3 separate regions of the Homo sapiens genome follow, and all the other regions are linked to region 2. Evidence: promoter capture Hi-C in human tissues and cell types (Jung and others, 2019). All regions are on one chromosome and are shown on one strand. Each heading gives the region's core, a stretch centred on a gene start or on the middle of the fragment in contact. The rest is flanking DNA. Distances are from core to core; before and after follow the strand shown.

What was found. The method cuts DNA at HindIII sites, captures the fragments that hold promoters and counts their contacts. A contact is called where the count stands out against the background at its distance.
Region 1: a fragment that was not itself captured here is called in contact with the fragment with the promoter of FAM168A in region 2 in 1 of the 25 tissues and cell types used here (spleen).
Region 3: a fragment that was not itself captured here is called in contact with the fragment with the promoter of FAM168A in region 2 in 1 of the 25 tissues and cell types used here (dorsolateral prefrontal cortex).

The regions. Positions count from the first base shown.
Region 1 is chr11:74,473,217-74,476,739 of GRCh38, reverse strand. No RefSeq gene overlaps it. Among named protein-coding and RNA genes, the nearest start is that of KCNE3, 7.4 kb to the right of the region's middle. The HindIII fragment of the contact is 4,261 bases long and covers 1-3,506 here.
Region 2 is chr11:73,596,213-73,599,592 of GRCh38, reverse strand. It overlaps FAM168A (family with sequence similarity 168 member A), which reads left to right and starts at 1,481. Exons shown (of 8, transcript NM_015159.3): 1 at 1,481-1,670. RefSeq lists silencers at 1,038-1,267, 1,398-1,527 and an enhancer at 1,419-2,147. The HindIII fragment of the contact is 9,297 bases long and covers 1-3,207 here.
Region 3 is chr11:72,807,426-72,810,783 of GRCh38, reverse strand. All of the region lies in intron 1 of LOC107984421 (a long non-coding RNA gene), which reads left to right. Among named protein-coding and RNA genes, the nearest start is that of ATG16L2, 5.3 kb to the left of the region's middle. RefSeq lists a silencer at 2,839-2,908. The HindIII fragment of the contact is 4,988 bases long and covers 1-3,358 here.

The sequences.
Region 1 (3,523 bases), core at 127-2,626, 880 kb before region 2:
CCGATCCCAACCAGACTGTGAGCTCCCCAGGCAGGGACTATAGCTGTGTCATCCATGGCCTTTTCAGCCCCCAGTCCCGGGCCTCCCACAGAGGAGGCACCCAGAAACAGTCTGTGGAATCAGAGAATGGATTGTCTCAGAAGTGGTCTCTACTTCAAGTTAAACATTCCTTATTCTTATGTTCTTCATGGCTTCCAGACCCCACACCACTGCCCTCATCTCCATAGGCTCCAATTGGCTAATGTGCCCTTAATCTATGCAGCTTGAAGATAACATGTATGGTATGGTCTGGCCAGGTTCCAGCCTGTGCTGGACCCTGAGGACAGAGATGGATCCAACTTGGTCCATCTTCAAGGAGCTCACCGCCTTGTAGAGAAGACACACCTGTAAACAAACACATGCAGTAAAGTGTTATACACACTGAGAGAAGCTTGCATAGGGAACTGTGGGGAAATAAAAGAAGTACTAAGTCTTAAAAGGGAGGATGAGGGCAGAAAAGGCTCAAAGTGACACTGAATTAGTGAGGACTTTGGGTTGTAGGTAACAGGAAACCCAGCTCAAACTAGCTCAAGTGAAAAGAGAATATTTTAGATCTCATAACTGAAAAGTCTGTGGATAGACTTCAGGCACAGATTGATCCAGGGACTCAAACAATGGCATCAGGACTTGGTTTTTCTTCCTCTATTCCTTAGCTCTGCTGACCTCAGAATTGGCTTCACTCTCTCCTGTGTGGTGCCAAAGATGGCTGTTGGTCACACCACACTTAGATTCTATAGCTTAGCCACCCTTACTTCCGTATACATTCAGCCTAAGGCCCAGGAAGGATTCTGGATAAATCATCACTCCAAGGAGCGTCATGACCCTCTTGGAACAAACAGATGGGGCTTAGCCCCACCTGAACCATATGGGCTGAGAGCAAGAGAGGGAAGGGTGACTCCCCAAAAGGAAGAGAGAGGTTCTATTCCCAAAAGAAGGAATTCTGGGAAGGCCAAGACATCAGATGTCCACTATGGCTTCAGAAGATAAGAATTGTGGGATAGATAAGAAGACATGGTGTGTTCCAGGCAGAATAAGAAGCATGAGAGTCTCTGAAGTGTGAAGCTAATCTGGGGAACTCAAGTGCCTATCTTGCCCCAGACTATAGCAGGTGTTTTAGGTGCTCCATGTATATTTGCCTGGCCCTTCCATTTCAGTGCCATTTCAAATATCTGTTAGAAACAGTCATTTCAGGCTGGGCACAGTGGCACAATCCTGTAATATCAGCACTTTGGGAGGCCGAGGCAGGAGGATCACTTGAGCTCAGGAGTTTGAGACCAGCCTGGGCAACGTAGTAAAAGCCTGTCTTTACAAAAAATGCAAAAATTAGCCGGGCATGGTGGCGTACACTTGTAGTCCCAGCTACTTGGGAAGCTGAGGCAAAAAGATTGCTTGAGTCCAGGAAGTGAAGGCTGCAATGAGCCAAGATCATCACCACTGCACTCCAGCCTGGAGCCTGGGTGACAGAGTGAGACCCTGTCTTAAAAAAAAAAAAAGAAGAAGAAGAAGAAGAGAAATAGACATTTCAGTGTCTATTTCCACCTGCCAGCATCTGTACCTTTTTTCTCAGGACTTTTGGAGGGACCGGGGCTGTCAACCCATGTGTCAGGCTGGACATGCTGGAGAATTCATATCCCCCGAGCAGCCCTCAGCCAATGACTGACTCCCCTAGCCCCCTTGCCTCTAATGAGGGGTAACTCTGGATGTGTGTTCTACCCAGGCCTCTAGGGTTCCCTAGCAGGGCTAAGCTTGCTAAGGGTACACCTTATGAAAGGCTCCATTCACTCCTGTGTTACTTCACCACTCTTCTAATTGTGTTTCCTGGGATCACGTCACACATGAACCACTTGTACTCAAATCCATGTCCCAGGGCCTGCTTCTGGGAGAATCCAAGATAGCCCCAAACACATTCTTCTAAAAACAAAGCTTAAGTCAGTGTCAACACTTTTTGTTTTTGTTTTGTTTTGCTGCCACACTATCCTATTTACTTAGGTGGGATAACAAATATGCATAACATCTGAGGTACAGCCCCTCCTTCCAGGAGCTCCTGGTCTGAGGGGAAGGCAATAATAAGCATTTCATGGTTTTCAAAGTGCCTTCTCAGCTGTGAGTCCATTTGCTCCTTGGAACACTGCAAGGTTTGCAGGACCAAGATTGTTGTTGTGCAAGTGAGGAACACAGAGGCTCAAAGTGGGGCAGTGACTTGGCCCAGGTCCCAGGGCCGATGATCCTTGGCTGACCCCTTTCTTGGCTTGTGCCTGTGTCAGCACCATCCAGGTGGTCTCTTATCACTAAGAAGAATTAGGGAATCCCTCCTTCTCTGTAGGTTCAGCCAGACCTCCAGTAAAGACACCCACATCTGTTGCTTGTTTTCTAAACATTGATGACTTTGGAGGTAGAAGATTAGAAGCACCAAAAACCAAACAGCATTCTGATCCCCCCAGGGGCTGCTTCGTCTATTGCTCCCTCTTGGACTAGGGGCTCTCCCAGTGAGAGCAACATTTTCCATGCAGTCAGGGCCATTCTTCCCATATCAGACTGTACCCTGCCCAAGAACAGGGACTTACACAAGGATGATACATATGAAAAAGGGGAGATACGTGGGATGGGAGCAGTCAGGGGACACAGACAAAGGCATCTAATTTAGGGCAGGGGAGATTTCCGGGAGGAAGTAGCATCTAAGGGTGAGTTAGCCGGCCCCAGGAGGAAGTATGTTCCAGGCAGAGAGAACAGCATAGGCAAAGGCCTGAAGATGACAGAGAGTATGTGGATATTTGAGGAACTGAGATTGTCCCCTCCTGCTCCTTTCTGGGGTGAAAACCCAAGCTCGCATCCTCCACCCACATTCCTTAGTTCTTCTACTCCTTCCTCCCACCCCTTGCCTGGAGCACGCTGAAAAGGATCAGGGGAGGACCCTACTCATCTGACAGATGCACTGCCTGTGCTGGATCCTTCCACGTGTCCCTTCATGGGTTCACCACCCTTCTCCACCCACAGTAGGCCGCCTGACTCTGGAGCTTCCAACTGGGTTGAGCCAACAGGAGGCAGTGGTAGAAGACCACAGGATGGGAGGGGAGAGAGGGAAAGGTGCTTGTTCCCCTGGCTCTCTCCCTGCGAGAGGTTAGCCTCTACCAAAGGCCACAGCTCCAGCCGAGATGCCCTCCCCACCACTGCCCTCTCTGAGTTCCAGTAACCCCTTCCTCCCCTTGCCCTGTCAGCCCAGGTAGTTTTCATCCTCACTGTTGCTAGCCAGACATACTGCACTATTTTGTCTTGATTTCCTAAGCCCTCGCCACACTCTGAATTACCCATTTTCAGGGTGCCATCTGTTTCCTACCTGGACCCTGGTGACGCACAGCCCTAATCCACAGTTAGAGGATGGACGGGGTATGCTAAGCCCTGCAAAATGCTGGGAACCTGGGAGGAGTTATTGAGTTATTGGTATTCAGCTCAATTCCACCTCACTTGCCTATCTTTTTTTTTTTTT
Region 2 (3,380 bases), core at 232-2,731:
CCTGTAATCCCAGCACTTTGGGAGGCTGAGGCGGGCAGGTCAGGAGGTCAAGAAATCGAGACCATCCTGGCCAATATAGTGAAACCCCATCTCTACTAAAAATACAAAAATTAGCTGGATGTGGTGGCGCGCGCCTGTAGTCCCAGCTACTCAGGAGGCTGAGGCAGGAGAATCGCTTGAACCCGGGAGGCAGAGGTTGCAGTGACCTGCGATCGCCCCCACTTTACTCCAGCCTGGCTATAGATCCAGACTCCGTCTCAAAAAACAAAAAAAACCTACGTGCAATCTGACACCCTTTCCCCCAAGATAATCATTGCTAATATTTTGGCGAACCTCTTTCCTGAAATCTCTCCATGCTTGTAGAATATTGTGTCAAACCTCACATAAATGCACTCGTGTAGACATGCTGTTGTGTAATCAACTTTTTCCCCGAAGAATAAATTGTGAATAGCTTTTCATGTCAATAGATTTATATCATTTTAAATGGCTCCTTAGTATTGCATTGTATGTATATGTCACGTCTTATTTAAGCAGCACCCTATCGATGAACATTTACTCCCTTCATAATTAACTACGTCATATAACAACTTTGTGCATTCATCTTTTCGAAATTGTTCGATCATCTTTTTAAGGTAAATTCTTAAAAGTAATGGAGCTGGGTCAAGAAGAGGATATGCCCTTTGTCGTTTGGATTCAAGTTGCCGAATCGTCCTCAAATTTGCAGGGAGACCAGCGAGGAAGCTCCGGCATTAGTTCTGGTGAGAGACAGCTGAAACGGAGATGGCGAGGGATGAACAGAATCACAGGTGATCTAGCCCATCAAGGCCCATCCTCGGTGGGCTGGCGTATTCCTTCCCTTTTGCCTCTCTTTCACTTCTTTTTCTTAACATGGAGGAAGAACCGAGAACTCCATCTCCCAGCATTTCGCAGGGACCACACTCCCTGGGAACTGTAGTACCGGGTCTGAGAAGGGTCCGGAAGGAGAATAGGAAGCTGAGGGGCATGCTGGGAGGTGTAGTCCAGAGACAGAGACGAGAGGGAGAGGGAGAGAGGGAGAGAGGGAGAGAGGGAGAGACAGAGAGTGTGTGTGTGTGTGTGGGCGGGGGGAGGGGGGTGTCTATGCAAAGAGGATGGAGACGCTGCGAGTACGGCCCCTTGGGGATGGGGCCTCGGGCGACCTGACTTTCCTCACAGGTGGTCTTTGAGTCTACAAAATTCGCCAGCGGATGGTTGGCTTTATTCCACTGTCCGTGACCGGAGAGGGCGCGGCCCCTCTGCACCGGGCTCGCGGCGGGAGGCGCAGGCCGCGCGCGGGCTAAAGCAGGGCATGCCGGGAGTTGTGGTCCCGGCGCTCTGAGGCTGTGGGACGTGTCGCGGCGCCGCGCCGGCTCCTCCTTCCCTGCCCTTCTGAGCGGTCCCCCGCCTCCTCCCTCCGCCTCCTCCTCCCTCGCCCGCAGCCGAGCGTCCCCTCCCCCCACCCGTCGGGCTCCTCGGCGGCTACTGCAGAGGATTCAGAGCCGAGTCGCTGAGGAGGAGGCTCCGGTCCCCGCGCGCCATCCGCCACCCTACTGGACACGGGCGAGAGCGTCGCCGCCGTAGCCTCCGGAGAAGACAAGGGCATCGCCGCCTCAGCCGCCGCCGCCGCCGTTTTCGCCTGCAGCTGCTCACCGGTGAGGAGACTCCCCCCGCCACAGGGTCCGCTGGTCCTGAGTCTGGGCCGGTGGCGCTGGCGAGAATGAGAGGGGAGGCTGCGGAGCCCCCGTGCAGGTTGGGGGGAGGGGGTTGAGGTCGCGATGGAACGGCGGGCTGGCGGGGGAGACTTGTCCAGGCGCTGGCCGGGGGTGGGGTGAGGGTGGGACCCAAGCAGGTTGGGGGGCGGGCGACAAGGGAGGAGGACTTTTGATGGAGAATAACCCAACCTGGGACAGGAGAGTGGGGTGGGGGCGTCGGGTTGGAATTCGGGATGGTCTTGGGGCGAGGTGGAAGATGAGACTAGGGTGGGATGGCTTTTAATGGGGGAGGGGACTGAATGAGGGTGGTGATTTGGGTTTGGCCTGGAGCAGTTGACAGCTTGGGATCTGAGCTGGGGTGAGGGGCAGGGGAATGATTTCAACGGAGAGTGAGTGGCATGTACAGGGTTGGTTAGGGCCCTGCGTAGTGTTAATTCAGAAGGGTGGAATTTGGGGTGGACCTGGGGCAGGATGATGGAGGTGGCAGGAGTTGGGGGTGAGGGGCTTGGCATGGGTTGAGACCCAAGCTTGAAGTGGGTGTTTGTCATCTGGGGCTGGTGGAATTTGTGGAGACTTATGGAATAGCATGGGTTAGGATAGAGCAGAAGAGTGCAATTTGGGGGTTTCCTGGGGTGGGCTGATGGAGGTTGGAATAGGAGTTGGTGGAGGTGGGACATTCAGTGAGGGGAGTGTGATGGTGAGCTGGCAGGAAGGGGCCACATTGGAAGTCAGGCCCGAAATGGGAGGACAGGGATGGAAATGGAGTGTGGGGCACAGTGGGTTGGATTTAGGGTGATCTTACAATCACTGGAAAGGGCATGGTGGCTCCTTGGTTGCAGAGTCAAGGCAGAGGGCACATAAAACATCACTGGGCTGCTTTCATTGAAAGGATAGCGGCAGGGGTGAGCAAAGTTGGGGGATGGTATCTTGAAGAAAATATCCCTTGGCCAAGGTGGCAGAGGGAGTTTTGGAGAAGGACTTTCGGAGATGAGCTGGTAGGCCTGGGGAGGTGGTTGCTGATGGTGAGGTGGCACAGGGGAAATTTAAGGAATGGGAGACCTGGAGCTGTTGGTATGGATGGGGCAGAGAGGATGGAGAGGGACAGTGAGCTGTGCTGGAGAGCAGGGGGGAATTGGGTTGGATTATTTTGGTGGTGAAGGATTGGGGTGGCCTCCAAGAGACACATGAGGGTTAAGGGTTGGAATACTTAAATGAACAGCCTTGGTGGCTGTGGTTGGGTGAGAGGCAGTAAGGCTGTTAGAGGGGACTTTGCAGGGGACACGGAAGAGACCTTCTCATTCTTAGGGGCCATTTTAATCTGTTCGGGTGATGTTTTTGTTTGTTTTATTTATATTAGTAAAATTTGGAAGTCAAGTCAGCCCAAAGGGTAAAGTTGAAAGGGGATTTAGTTAAGGTAGAATTAAGGAGGGGAGGGTGTCTTCTGTTATTTGTATATCATAAAAAGTAAGTTGGGGGAAAAAAGCATACTTCCAAACTAAAGGTGGGAGAAGATAAACTGGAATGTAATGGATATCTTTCTATATGATGTCTCTGCCTTTTCTTTTCCCCTCTCCTCCTGGTGTATTTAAAAACTAGCCAGGCATTTTGAAATTTAAATAGATTTGATGAGCTTGAGATTGTTAAGGGTGC
Region 3 (3,358 bases), core at 125-2,624, 790 kb after region 2:
CTTAGCCCCACCTTGGAGGCTTTGCCCTGGCTGCACCCCTCTCCTAGTGCTCTTCCTCCACAACTTTTAGAGGCTAGCTCCTACATACCAGGCAGATTTCAGAAGACCTTTCCTGTCATCCAATCTGAAAAAGCTCCCATCCCAATCAGCGTCTATCACATCACCCTTGTTCTTCCTTTCAGAGCACCTAATACTCCCAGAAAGAATCACATTTCTGTGTTTGCTAGTTGTTTATTATGTCTCTTCTACCAGGCTGGGAACTTCAGGAAAGCCAGGACCAAGTCAATCTTGATCTAGGCTCTGTCTTCAGCATCTAGAACCAGGCTTGGCACCAACTGAGTAGGTAATCCGTAAATAAATTGCTGTTGCTGTGTATCAAAAAGAAAAAACCAAAGTTTGCATGGTCCAGTGCTTAGAAGTTTTGAAATAAAAAATGTAGCTATTTTTTGGCTGGGTATAGTGGCTCACGCCTGTAATCCCAGCACTTTGGGAGTCCGAGGCGGTGGATCACCTGAAGTCAGGAGTTCGAGACCAGCCTGGCCGACATAGTGAAACCACGTCTCTACTAAAAATACAAAAATTAGCCGGGAGTGGTGGCAGGTGCCTATAATCCTAGCTGCTTGGGAGGCTGAGCGGGGAGAATCACTTGAACCTGGGAGGCAGAAGTGGCAGTGAGCTGAGATCGTGCCATTGCACTCCAGCCTGGGCGAAAGAGCAAGACTCAGTTTAAAAAAAAAAAAAGTAGCTATTTTTTAAATTGGAAAACCAATCACATGCACATAGCAAAGAATTGAAATAGTACAAAAGTGAGCCTGTTTGCCTCACACCTTCATATTGATCAGGATAGGACAGGCTGGTCTGTGGTTACAGTGATTTCTTTTTTTTTTTTTTTCTTCCAGAGATGGAGTCTCGCTCTGTCTCCCAGTCTGGAGTGCAGTGGCATGATCTTGGCAATCTGGGCTCACTGCAACCTCCGCCTCCCAGATTCAAGCAATTCTCCTGCCTCAGCCTCCCGAGTAGCTGGGACTACAGGCACACGCTGCCACACCTGGCTAATTTTTTGTATTTTAGTAGAGACAGGGTTTCACCACGTTGCCCAGGCTGGTCTCAAACTCCTGAGCTCAGGCAATCTGCTCGCCTCAGCCTCCCAAAGTGCTAGGATTACAGGCGTGAGCCACCGCACCTGGCAGTACAGTGATTTCTAATATTGCCCATGACTGTTGGCTGAACTCAACTGGTGATTCTTACTTTGAATGGCTTATGTGACTGCGATCACACCAGGACTGGAGTTACCTGAAGACTCAGCTGGGCAGGTTACTGTTGATGGCTCACTCATTTGGCTGGCAGGAGATGCCATCTATTGGCTAGAGGGTCGGAGCTGCAAACCAAAGCACCTACATGTGGCCCCTTCACATGGCTTAGGTTTCTCAGAACATGGTGGCTAGATTCTGAGAGGGAGGCATCCCAAAACATGCATCCAACAGTATGAAAGCTGCCAGTCTCTTACGGTTTGACCCTGAAATTAGAACACATCACTTCCTCTGCATTCTATTAACCAAAGCAGTCACGGACCAGCCCAGATTGAAGGAGAGGGGACATAGGCCCCAGCCTTCAATGAAAGGAATGTCAAGCCAGGCACGATGGCTCACACCTGTAATCCCAGCACTTTGGGAGGTCAAGGCGGGCGGATCATCTGAGGTCAGGAGTTTGAGACCAGCCTGACTAACGTGGTGAAACCCCGTCTCTACTAAAAATACAAAAATTAGCCGGATGTGGTGGCGCACGCCTGTAATCCCAGCTATTCAGGAGGCTGAGGCAGGAGAATCGCTTGAACCCAGGAGGTGGAGTTTGCAGTGAGCCGAGATTGTGCCATTGCATTCCAGCCTGGGTGACAGAATGAGACTGTCTCAAAAAAAAATTAAAAAAGGAATGTCAAAAAAGTCTGGCCATCTTTAATCCACCACATGTGGATACTAAATAAAACTCCAAATCTCAGTCGCTTAAAACAACAAAGGCTTATTTCTTACTCATCCCACATTAGACAATGATGGTGTGCTGTTCTCCCCCAGCAGGGACTTAAATCCTTCTGACATCACCATAATCTCAGTTATTTGATTCCAACTGCTCAGATTGGGGTAGGGGAGAGGGAAAAGATTGACACTAACACTTAATTGCCTTGGACTGAAGTGATACATTCTTCTGCCCAATTCCGACTGGTGACATCACATCTACTAGGAAGGTTGAGAAATGTAGTCTTTCCATAGTCCCTGGAAAAGAGAAATGGGTGTGGATACATCACTGTGGCTAACACACACCACTTTCCCAGTCTCCTCCTCTAAAAGCATCACCACTAACACTACAGAGTGTATACTTCCAGAAATATTTATGCATATACGACACATAAAACACAAAGGGGAACAGGCACAGTGGCTCACGCCTGTAATCCCTGCACTTTGGGATGCTGAGGCGAGCAGATCACTTGAGCCCAGGAGTCTGAGACTAGCCTGGGCAACATGGCGAAACCCTGTCTCTTCTAAAAATACAAAATTTAGCCAGGCATGGTGGCACATGCCTGTAGTCCCAGCTACTCCAGAGGCTGGGGTGGGAGGATCACTTGAGCTCAGGAGGCAGAGGTTGCATTGAGCTGTGACCATGCCACTGCACTCAGCCTGGGTGACAGAGTGAGACCTTGTCTAAAACAAAAAAAACCCACAGAAAAAGAGTAGCATTTACACACTTCTACACTTTGCTTCTTCCTCTTTTTTTTTTTTTTTTTTTGGACAGAGTCTCACTCTGCTCTCCAGGCTAGAGTGCGATGGCACAATCATAGCTCATTGTAACCTCAAACTCCTGGGCTCAAACAATCCTCCCACCTCAGCCTCCTGAGACTAAAGATATGAGCCACCACACCTGGCCAAGCAAAGGATTTAAGTAGACATTTCTTCAGGCCAGACACGGTGGCTCATGCCTGTAATCCCAGCACACTGGGAGGCCAAGGCGGGCAGATCACCTGAGGTCAGGAGCTGAAGACCAGCCTGGCCAACATAGTGAAACACCATATCTACTAAAAATACAAAAATTAGCTGGGTGTGGTGGCACTTGCCTGTAGTCCCAGCTACTTAGGAGGCTGAGGCAGGAGAATCGCTTGAACCCGGGAGGCAGAGGTTGCAGTGAGCAGCGATCACATCACTGCACTCCAGCCTGGGCGATGGATTGAGACACTGTCTCAAAAATAAATAAATAGACATTTCTTCAAAGTAAATATACAAATGGCCAATAAGCATGTGAAAAATTGCTCAACATCATCAGTAGGGAAGTGCAAATAAAAAACCACAATGAGCTAGCACTTTATATCTAC